2 separate regions of the Homo sapiens genome follow, and region 2 is linked to region 1. The links are contacts of gene promoters, found by promoter capture Hi-C in blood cells and fetal thymus (Javierre and others, 2016). All regions are on one chromosome and are shown on one strand. The core of a region is centred on a gene start or on the middle of the fragment in contact, and the rest is flanking DNA. Distances in the headings are between cores, read along the strand shown.

Evidence for each region. Contacts are between HindIII fragments. The CHiCAGO score rates a contact against its expected background, and 5 or more counts as called.
Region 2: a contact is called between the fragment with the promoter of TCN1 here and the fragment with the promoter of MRPL16 in region 1, in 1 of 17 cell types (neutrophils). The highest score is 14.2, in neutrophils.

Annotation. Positions count from the first base shown.
Region 1 is chr11:59,808,742-59,814,183 of GRCh38, forward strand. It overlaps MRPL16 (mitochondrial ribosomal protein L16), which reads right to left and starts at 2,037. Exons shown (of 4, transcript NM_017840.4): 1 at 1,863-2,037; 2 at 1,114-1,179. The coding sequence starts at 1,917. RefSeq lists an enhancer at 2,031-2,250. The HindIII fragment of the contact is 7,606 bases long and covers 496-5,442 here.
Region 2 is chr11:59,863,752-59,869,193 of GRCh38, forward strand. It overlaps TCN1 (transcobalamin 1), which reads right to left and starts at 2,736. Exons shown (of 9, transcript NM_001062.4): 1 at 2,641-2,736; 2 at 156-335. The coding sequence starts at 2,719. The HindIII fragment of the contact is 12,351 bases long and covers 640-5,442 here.

The DNA.
Region 1 (5,442 bases), core at 787-3,286:
ATCCTTTGATCAATGCTCTTTCTCTCATATATGCAGGGACTTTTCATGCTGAGACCTGCACAGGTCAGTGTGCCAGGTTTTGGTGGGTGGGCAAAACTTCAGGCCAGACATGTGACATCTTCTTTATCATCCTTACTTGACGATTTGGGGAAAAAAGTTAACATACAAATCATTTTTAAAAATTTCTTAAATGAACCAAGTATGGCTTTATAATGGAGACAAATACAAAATAGAAGAGTTTGAGGAAATACCAAATTATTACTATCAGAGTTTCAGAAGCTGCCCCTCAACTTCTATATGTAGCTACAGAGAATCTTAGTAATGCTTTCTTTCACCTACAAGTCAAAATGTACTTTCAAAACGTGGTTTAACAATTCTGTACAGAAGACCCTCAGATGTACAGACCCTATTCATTTTTTTTGAGGGTTCCAGTATATTTCTTTTTTAAAAAGTAAACTAGTTTTACGATATTGTGGCTTAAATTTAACAAATTAAAGCTTTTTCACATATCGTTAGATGACTGCATATATGTAAACTTATTTGGAAAGAACATCAAAAGTTCAGGTTTTTTTTTTCTTTTGAGACAGAGTCTCACTCTGTTGCCCAGGCTGGAGTGCAGTGGCCTCCTGAGTAGCTGGGATTACAGGTGTAAACTACCACGCCCAGCTAATTTTTTGTATTTTTAGTAGAGATGGGGTTTCACCAGGTTGGCAGGCTGGTCTCCAACTCCTGGCCTCAAGTGATCCACCCGCCTCCGCCTCCTAAAGTGCTGTGATTACAGGCGTGAGCCACCATGCCCGCTCAAAAATCCAGATTTCAGGCCAATGACTACTGGCTGAGTGGACCATGGGACACACACCAGTGGGAGGTTTTAGGGGAGCTATCTCATTAGACGCTGCTCCGTAAGAGCAAGGAACTTTTTTGGTTTCCTTTGTCTTTGATTTATTTCTAGTGCTCAGAATATTAGTTGGCAAAACTGTAAGCTCTAAAAACATATTTATTGAAAGAGTGAACGGGGATGGGAAACACGAGAACATTCCTATGTCATCTCCCACCCGCTCCTGGTTTCCATCAGAGAAAAGATTTACGAACAGGAGAAAGACAAGCTCTCACCTTCAAAACTTGGTACTGGGAGCAGTGTCTTTACGCCAGCACTGGCGGGGAGGAGTGCCCAGGAATCTACAAAGACAAATCAAGTTAAACGACGAAGGTAACAGGCCGGGACCCCGATACAACCTGGGCCAAAGGTACTACTTCTTATTTTTATTTATTTTATTTTTTTGAGACGGAGTCTTACTCTGTCGCCCAGGATCCAGTGCAGTGGCGCGATCTCGGCTCACTGCAACCTCCGCCTCCCGGGTTCAAGAGATTCTCCTGCCTCAGCCTCCGGACTAGCTGGGATTACAGTCGCCCACCACCACGCCCAGCTAATTTTTTTTGTATTTTCAGTAGAGACAGGGTTTCACCATGTTGGCCAGGCTGGTTTCAAACTACTGACCTCAAGTGATTCGCCCGCCTCGGCCTCCCAAAGTGCTGCTATTAAAGGCGTGAGCCACCGCGCCCGCCCAAAAGTACTTCCGCCGGAGGAGTCTTGAGGTGTGGGATGCGGATTCCACTAAATGGACTCAAAGGCTCAGGCTCCGCAAAAGGCCAGCCGGGATCTCTGGGCGCCGACTCCCAGACGCAGCTGTGACCCTCTTGCACGAACCCCTACGGTGGAGGTCGGCGGTGCGATAGCGTAGTTCCTAACCAGTGCTTCACCAAGCATATGCAGAGCCGCCTTTTGGGTTAGGGAGAAAAAGCACTGGAGGGTGGGGGAGGAAGAGGGGTAAAGTCTTTAGGAACCAAAAGGGACTTCTGACCTGACAAGGGCACCCGCAGGAGCGGCGCACTAGCGCGAGCCAGCAGCCTCCACATGGTCACGGGCGTCCGGCGGCGCGGAGCTCCCCCAGCGACTCCGGCTGTCTCCTGCACCCAGGTAAGCAGCGGCGCTCCACTACCTAGCTGTAATCGGCTCAGGACACCGCTCAGTGGGGCCGGAAGTTGTGTTCACTCGGGTCCACTCCGCAGAGTCCCGACGGAAGCGAAAGAAACTCGAGCGACGGGGGTTGAGTTCCGGGGGAGGTTGAGTTCCTGCGGTCAAAGGCGCCGTCCGCCCAGCCACGCCCAGGGGCCCTGTTGGCTCTCTAGGGTTCTCCTTCCAATCTCCAGTCTTTCCCCAGAAGAAGAGGGCGGCGGGGCGGGGAGTCTTTTGTTTTATTTATTTATTTTTCTGCGGAGTACAACTGTTAGTGCCTGCCGGTTGCTTAGCAAGGTGGTCCCTTACGATTCACAGCCTTTGAGATGATTTTCTAGGGGACCCCTCAAAGACATTAGGAGAATACCAGATTTAGCAATGGTTTAACATGTATAGGGCAATTGCAATGTGTCATTGAGTACCTCATTCGTTAGTCCTGCCAACGAATCTGTGAGATAAGTCATTATACTTATTTTGCAGATTCCATCCTGAGGGTGAAATAATTTAACTTGTTCTGGGTCATACAACAGGAAAACAGTACCATCAGAATTTGAGCACAGTCTGTGATTCCAGAGATCTCAGTGAATGAACAATATTGTTGATGAAAAGAGTGAAATTCTGTAAGATATTGGAAGAGATTTATTCTGAGCCAAATATGAGCAACCATGGCCTGTGACACAGCCCTCAGGGGGTCCTGAGAACATGTGCCCAAGGTGGTAGAAGTGCAGCTTGGCTTTATACATATTAGAGGGGCATGAGACATCAATCAAATGCATTTAAGAAATACATTGGTTTGGTTCAGAAAGGCGGGACAAGTCAAGGTGGGCTTCTAGGCTATAGGTAAATGTAAACATTTTCTGGTTGACAATTGGTTGAGTTTGTCCAAAGACCTGGGATGGATAGAAAGGAATGTTCAGGTTAAACATAAATGATTGTAGAGACCAAGTTTTATTATGCAGAGGAAGCTCTTAGATAGCAGACTTTAGAGAAAGACTGTTGTAAATTGTTTTTTTATCTGACTTAAAGGGTGCCTGGAGGCCGGGCGCAGTGGTTCACGCCTGTAATCCCAGCACTTTGGGAGGCCAAAGCGGGCAGATTACCTGAGGTCAGGAGTTCAAGACCAGCCTGACCAACATGGTGAAACCCCGTCTCCACTAAAAATACAAAAAATTAGCTGGACGTGGTGGCGGGTGCCTGTAATCCCAGCTACTCGGGAAGCTGAGGCAGGAGAATCACTTGAACCTAGGAGGCGGAGGTTGCAGTGAGCCGAGATCACGCCACTGCACTCCAGACTCCAGACTGGGCAAGACAGAGAAAAAAAAATATGCCTGGCTCTTAGTTGATTGTCTCCTGGATCTGGGAAGGAAGGAAGGAAAACAAAGGGGAAAGAGAATACCTATAGAAATGGATTTTTCCCGCAAGAGACTTTGCAGGGCAATTTCAAGATATGGCAAAGAAATATATTTTGGGGTTAAATATTTTTTTCTTTGTCTCATAATGTTATGCCAGAGTCATGTTGAAAAGTAAGTCACAATATATAGGGTAAAATAAAACCTATATGATGAGAATTTATGGTTTGTAGGGCATGATTCCCTTAGGTAGGAATTTGGGCAAGATAAAAAATCAGAGCTTAGTCCTCAAGTTGAATATTGTGCAATATTGTTTTGAGTGAAAAATGAAGTGGCACTAAAATCACGGTTTGATTGGTCTCTAAGTCTTTTGGTACCCCAAAACTTCTACCTTATTGTTTATTTCAAAAGAGCCAAAAAGTGCAATCTACGGATCCAGTGCAATCCCTATCAAAATTCCAATGCCATTTTTCACAGAAATAGGAAAAACAACCCTTAAATTCATTTGGAACCACAAAAGACCCTGAATAGCCCAGACAATCTGGAACAAAAAGAACAAAGCTGGAGGCATCACACTCCCTGACTTCAAAACATAAGTTGATTGTAATCGAAACAGCACGGTATGGCAGAGAAATAGACACACTGACCAAATGAATAGGATAGAGAGCCCAGAAATAAACACACACATTTATACTTCATTGATTTGTTTTTTTTTTTCTTGAGACATAGTCTCACTCTGTCGCCCAGGCTGGAGTACAGTGGTGCGATCTCGGCTCACTGCCACTTCCGCCTGCTGGGTTCAAGCGATTCTTCCGCCTCAGCCTCTCTAGTAACTGGGTGTTACTAGATTCTTCCGCCTCAGCCTCTCTAGTACAGGGGTGTGCCACCACGCCTGGCTAATTTTTTCTATTTTTAGTAGAGAAGGGGTTTTGCCATGTTGGCCAGGCTAGTCTCAAACTCCTCAGGTGATCCACCCACCTTGGCCTCCCACAGTGCTGGGACTACGGGCATGAGCCACGACGCCTGGCGCAGTCCATTGATTTTTGGCAAAGGTGCCAAGAAAACATAATGGGGGAATGATAGTCTCTTCAACAAATGACGTTGGGAAAACCGGGTATTCACTTGCAGATTGAAATTGGACCCTTGTCTCATACCACATACAACTTAAAATAGGTTAAAGATTTAAATATAAGACCTGAAAGTGTAAAACTGTCAGAGGCATTTGAACCAGAGTGACTCCATCTGGAATAAAGGCTGGGTAAAATGAGGCTGAGGTCTACTAGGCTGCATTGCCAGGAGATTAGGCATTCCTAGTCACAGGATATTTATGGTTAAGGGAACAGTTAATAATGTTTACCAGGGCCAGGCTTGGTGGTGCATGCCCATAGTCCCAGCTACTTGGGAGGCTGAGGTGGGAGGATAGTTTCAGCCAGGGAGGCAGAGGTTGCAGTGAGCTGTGATAGCACAACTGCACTACAGCCTGGGCAACAAAGCAAGACCCCACCTCAAAAAAACAAAATGATGTTTACTGAACAGGCTCAGGACTTAACAGACCCAGGAAATGTCTTGATGTCCCAATATCTTAATAACAAAAGCATTCTTAGTGTAAGGATAAGTTTCACAGATGGATGTGGTGGCTCACGCCTGTAATCCCAGCACTTTGGGAGGCCGAGGACGGTGGATCACCTGAGGACGGGAGTTCGAGACCAGCCTGGCCAACATGGTGAAACCCTGTCTCTATTAAAAAATACAAAAATTAGCTGGGCGTGATGGTGGGTACCTGTAATCCTAGCTACTCAGGAGGCTGAGGCAGGAGAATCACTTGAATTAGGAGGTGGATGTTGCAGTGAGCTGAGATCGTGCCATTGTACTCCAGCCTGGGTGACAAGAGCGAAACTCCGTCTCACAAAAAAAAAAAAAAAAAAAAAAAAAAGAATAAGTTTCACTTTCAATTTAATAATATAGATGCTTGCAAAAGACAGTAGTTACACAAAGATTAACAATCCTTTGTCACAAGCACTTGTAGTAGAACACATCCTCCCCTGATTTTTTTTGCTTTGTTATCTTGTATATAAA
Region 2 (5,442 bases), core at 1,486-3,985, 56 kb after region 1:
TGTATTTTGGGCATGTTTCTGTTACCTCAAGTTTGGTACCATTAGAAGGGATGTAGCAGGGATACTTTGGATGCATAATTTTTTAGGATTAGTTGCAGATAATCTTTAAATAGGTAGATTTTTTTCTAAATCTTCCAGAATATACAGCAACTTACATCTGCTTTTCACATTGTATTTGATTTGTTGGATCATCTTTTGCATCAGGGTTTGGATCTGGATTCCAACAAGTTTGAGGGACAACACAACATTGACAGCGCTGGTTCCCCTGTTATAGTTTGACTGGATCATTGTATTCAACAGAGGTTTTAGGCGGATGTAGTTTTCTTCACTTACCTCTGTGGCAGAGAAGGAAGGAAATAAGAAACACATACTCAGAAAATAGTAAGACTTGCAGCAGGGGTTATATAAAAATATTTAGTAACAGATATGGCACAGACCTAGACCAATCCAGTGGCTGCAGACTGTGTTGGTGGAATAATACAAAGGTGGGTCTTGAACCCACCCCCATGCCAGACATTACTCCTTTAACAACCAACATGAAAATGTTTTAATATTTTAACAACTGGTGCAGACTTATCATTGTGTACTGGCAGACTCCTGCCTGGGAAATCTAGCATCATTCCCTAATTTTGTATATGAAGCTTAGATAGATTGTCCTTAAAGAAACTTCCATAATTGGAGGCTGAGCTGAAACTAGACTACATGTCTTCTGACTCTCAGTAAGCAGGACTTTCTACTTCCTGGATTCAGTTCTTTCCTTCTCCATCTTCTAAATCAACTGGGTTAATGTTGAGAAAATGCAGGTAATAATTCTGTGTTATACTGGTGATTGACCCCAAAACTTCATTGTCTGATTACCCAGCTGGCTGGGCATCGAGATCATTATTTAGCATTATGCAGCCTGTAAAAAACTCTCCAGTTTTAGCCTACAATATGCCCCAATTCCAGAGATGGAGGGAAGTCACATTATACTGTGGAAGTAGGAAAATCCATAGCTCCCAAGGAAATAGAGGAGAATAAAAAGATTTACTATTTATTTAAACACAGGACACTTTGTCAATGTATTTTTCCATAATCTTGAGGAGTAGCCCCAAATCCTACATATCTCCAGATTATCTAATGGATTAGTGGGAGAGTGAGAAGAACATGAGGTTTGGATTCAGATTTTGGCCACATTTTGTGCTCCTTAACTTATGACTGTGGATAATAACTTATGTAACTTGTTTTACTCTTAGTTTTCTCATTTAAAAATTGTGGCTGTTAACACTTACCTTACAGATATTGGACAAGAAACCACCGAATAAACTGTAAAATGCTGCACATACTATTATTTCCAGCTCAACTGGAGTTTTTATCACTATACTTGAGAATCAAGGAAATGTAATTTCTCTTGCCCAGTTTTCTTTACTTTAAAAGAATGAGTCAAGAAGATCTGAATAGAGTGATTGTAGAAAGGTCATGGTTTGTTGCAGACACAATGGAACAATTGTGAGTCAGTTCTCTGAGATTTTGTGGAACCATCCAGCTCAGCAGATTTTCTGGCCCTGAAACAGACTTTTTAGTTCCTGATCAACAACTCAAATCAGCTTCCTTGAGTCTCAAAGATAAATTTAATTATTATCATTATTATTTAAAATGAATTGAAAGCTAAAACCTACATAGCCATTCCCTATTCTTAGGATCCAACAGGGGAAATGTCAAGCCAAGAAGAAAAATCAGAGTCAGAAGAGTCTATGCTTTAGCCTGTATGTATACAAGCCTGTCTTCTGTGGTGTTCTCTTCTTACTGGTTAGAGAGCACAGATAGTACCACCTAGTAATCTTTGGACTGGTTTGAAGCTCAATTTCAGAGTAAAGTCTCACAAAAGAGAATTCATGCACTTGAGAACTGCACCAGACTTCATGAGATAATTTGCTTCAATAGTCTCCCCTCATTATCCTTTATTTATGAATGAAGCTAAAGAAATTCAGAAATGTTGGGTCATTCAATAACTAAGGGATCAAACTAAACCTGAATTTAGTTTTCCCTTCTCTTACTTTAAAGTTCTTTTACAGAACCACACAATCTCTGGGGTCAACACCCATGCAAGAGATGATGGAACTTTATCCCATGTGTCCTGGGAAAGAGTTGAAGGAAGGTGGACATGCAACTTGGAACATCTAAACTCACTCATGACAAGACAGCAGTCATCACTATTTGAAAGAGATTATTATTTTTTTCTATGTAGTTACAAGGGGTTAACCCAAAAATCATGCATTGAATTTCAGGGAAAAAAGATTGCATATCAAGACCAAAAGATAACTTTCCATGATCTAGAAAAGTTTCTGGGAGCATAAATTTTCTGTCATTGAAAAGTCACATGAATAGGGAGTTACTTGGTAGGGATGCTGTGCTAGAGAGGATCTGAGCATAGAAAGAGCAGTTAGGCAAGTGAATACACAATCTATAATTCCTCTTACAACAACATGCATTGTGAGACTTTCCTCACCATCTCCTGCCACCCTTTTCATCATTCATGGAGTCCAACCACATACGAAACTGGAATGGGATCTTTTCTCAGGTAACTCTACATAGAGTCTCTTGTCAACAGTTTTCAGTAGACTATCACTCTAGAGTAATTTTAGCTCAAAGTTTACTCACCACAAATCTCGCATAGTTGGCTTGGAATAAAAGAAAACAGTAAGAGCCCCACTAGGGGCAGCTGGTGTGACTGTCTCATCTCTCCAACAGTGTACCAGAATGTTGATGAATTGGCTGGCTATTTATTAAGTGATGGGCAGAAGGTAATGAGAGCTCCTCCTTCAGGTTGCCTCAGCCTCTTTTCACTCAAGCAAATATTGAGCAATGTCAGGAGGTGTGGTCAAGTGTATTTGTCCATGTGATGTAATAAATAAGGAAGAAGACTTGAAGGATGTGGTTAGGGAGAATAAGGCAATAACTTTCCTTTGTCTCCTGTCCTAAACCTTCGGGTTTCATATCTATTATTTGCCTTCCGTGCAGTGAAGATATATTAGGCAAATGACTGTTTCCTATAATCTTTCCTTTTTTTTCCGTTTCACTTTATGTTTTATGTTTCCTGATAAAGTAGATTTGATCATGCAAACACATACAACATATAAAAATGGAAGTAAAAGAAGACATCCAAATGGGAAGCAGGCATATGAAAAAGTGCTTGAAAAGGTGCTTAACATCATTGATCATCAGATAAATGGAAATCAAAGCTACAATGAGATATCCTCTCATCTCAGCTAAAAATGGCTTTATTCAAAACACAGGCAATAACAAATGCTGGCACGGATGTAGAGAAAAGGGAAGCCTTGTACACTGTTGGTGGGAATGTAAATTAGTACAATCACTATGGAGAACAGTTTGGAGCTTCCTCAAAAAACTAAACATAGAGCTACCATATGATCCAGCAATCCCACTGCTGGCTATATACCCAAAAGAAAGAAGACCAGTATATTGAAGAGATATCTGCACTCCCATGTTTGTTGCAGCACTGTTTACAATAACCAAGATTTGGAAGCAAGCTAAGTGTCTATCAACAGATAAATGAACACAGCAAATGTACATATACACAATGGAGTACTATTCAGCCATATAAAAGAATGAAATCCTGTCAGTTGTGACAAAATGGATGGAACTGGAGATAATTATGTTAAGTGAAATAAGCCAGGCACAGAAAGACATACATTGCATGTTCTCACTTATTTGTGGGATCTAAAAATCAAAACAATTGAATTCATAGAGATAGAGAATGAAAAGATGGTTACTGGGGGCTGGGAAGGCTAGTGGTGGGAAGGAGATGCGGAGGGTTAATGGGTACAAAATATTGGAAAGAATGAATAAGACCTACTATTGGTAGCATAACAGGGTGACTATAGTCAATAATAATTTAATTGTACATTTTAAATAACTAATAGTATAACTGGATTGTTTGTAACGTAAAGGATAAATGCTTGACAGGATGAATACCCCCTTCTCTATGATGTGATTATTACGCATTGCATGCCTGTATCAAAACATTTCATGAGCCCCATAAATATATACACCTACTATGTACCTACAAAAATTGAAATAAAAAAATTTAAAAACGGAAGTAAAAGTTGTAAGTCTGAAATTGAAGCAGGCAGTATTGGAGAACCCAGCACATGAGGGGATCTTTGGCATAGTGGTTTCCAAACTATGATTTTTCTCCTAAGATAGATTCCATGAGAGTTTCCTAACCAAGGAGGAAAACCAGAGAGCTATACATCAAATGTGAATTTCTGCCCTGCCAGGGCAGTTGCTACATGTGAGAAGTGTTGCCTATCACAGTTCTTCTGAGAACTATTAGAGAATACTGTCAGCCTAGCTAAGGATGTCATGACTTAATGAGCCACTATTTGCATTGTACCTCTGTGATGGTTAATTTTCTGTGTCAACTTGACTGGCACCTGAGTGCCCAGATTAAACACTATTTCTCGATGTATCTGTGAGGGTGTTTCCAGATAGGATTAGCATTTTAATTGGTGGACTCTGGAAAGTAGAATGCCGTCTCCAATGTAGGTGTGCATCAATCAATCTATTGAGACCCTGAATAGAATAAAATGGTGAAGGAAGGGGGAATTCACCCTTTTTTTGCTTCCTGCCAGCCTGTTTGAGCTAGGACATCTTATCTTCTCCAGCCCTCAAACTGAGATTTACACCATCGGCTCCCCTGGTTCTTGGGCTTTCAGTTTGGCCTGAATCACTCCACTGACTTTTACTGCATGCAGACAGTAGACTGTGGGACTTCTTAGCCTCCATAAGGGCATGAATCAACTCCTTGGAATAAATCTCTTTCTCTCTCTCACATATTTATATAAAACTTATGTGGAAACCACCATTCTACTCTCTGTTTCCATGTATTTGATAATTTTTAGAATCTACATATAAATGAGATCATAGTATTTGTCTGTGACTTATTTCATTTAGCATGATATTCTTCAGGTTCATCCATGCTGTCTCAAAGGGCACTATTTCCTTCTTTTTTATGGCTGAATACTATTCTATTATATAAATATAAATATATATATACACACACACACATATATGTGTGTGTGTATATAAATCACAATTTTTATCCCTTCATCCATCAACAGATATGTAGGTTGTTTCTATGTCTTTGATATTGTGAATAATGCTGCAATGAACATGGGAGTACATATTTTATATAATATATATTTTTGTTTGTTTGTTTGTTTGTTTGTTTGTTTTTGAGACAGAGTTTCTCTCTTGTCGCCCAAGCTGGAGTGCAATGGTGCAATCTCAGCTCACTGGAAACTCCACCTCCCGGGTCCAAGTGATTTTCCTGCCTCAGCCTCCAGAGTAGCTGGGATTACAGGTATCTGCCACCACACCGGCTAACTTTTCTATTTTTTTTTAGTAGAGACAGGGTTTCAACATGTTGATCAGGCTGGT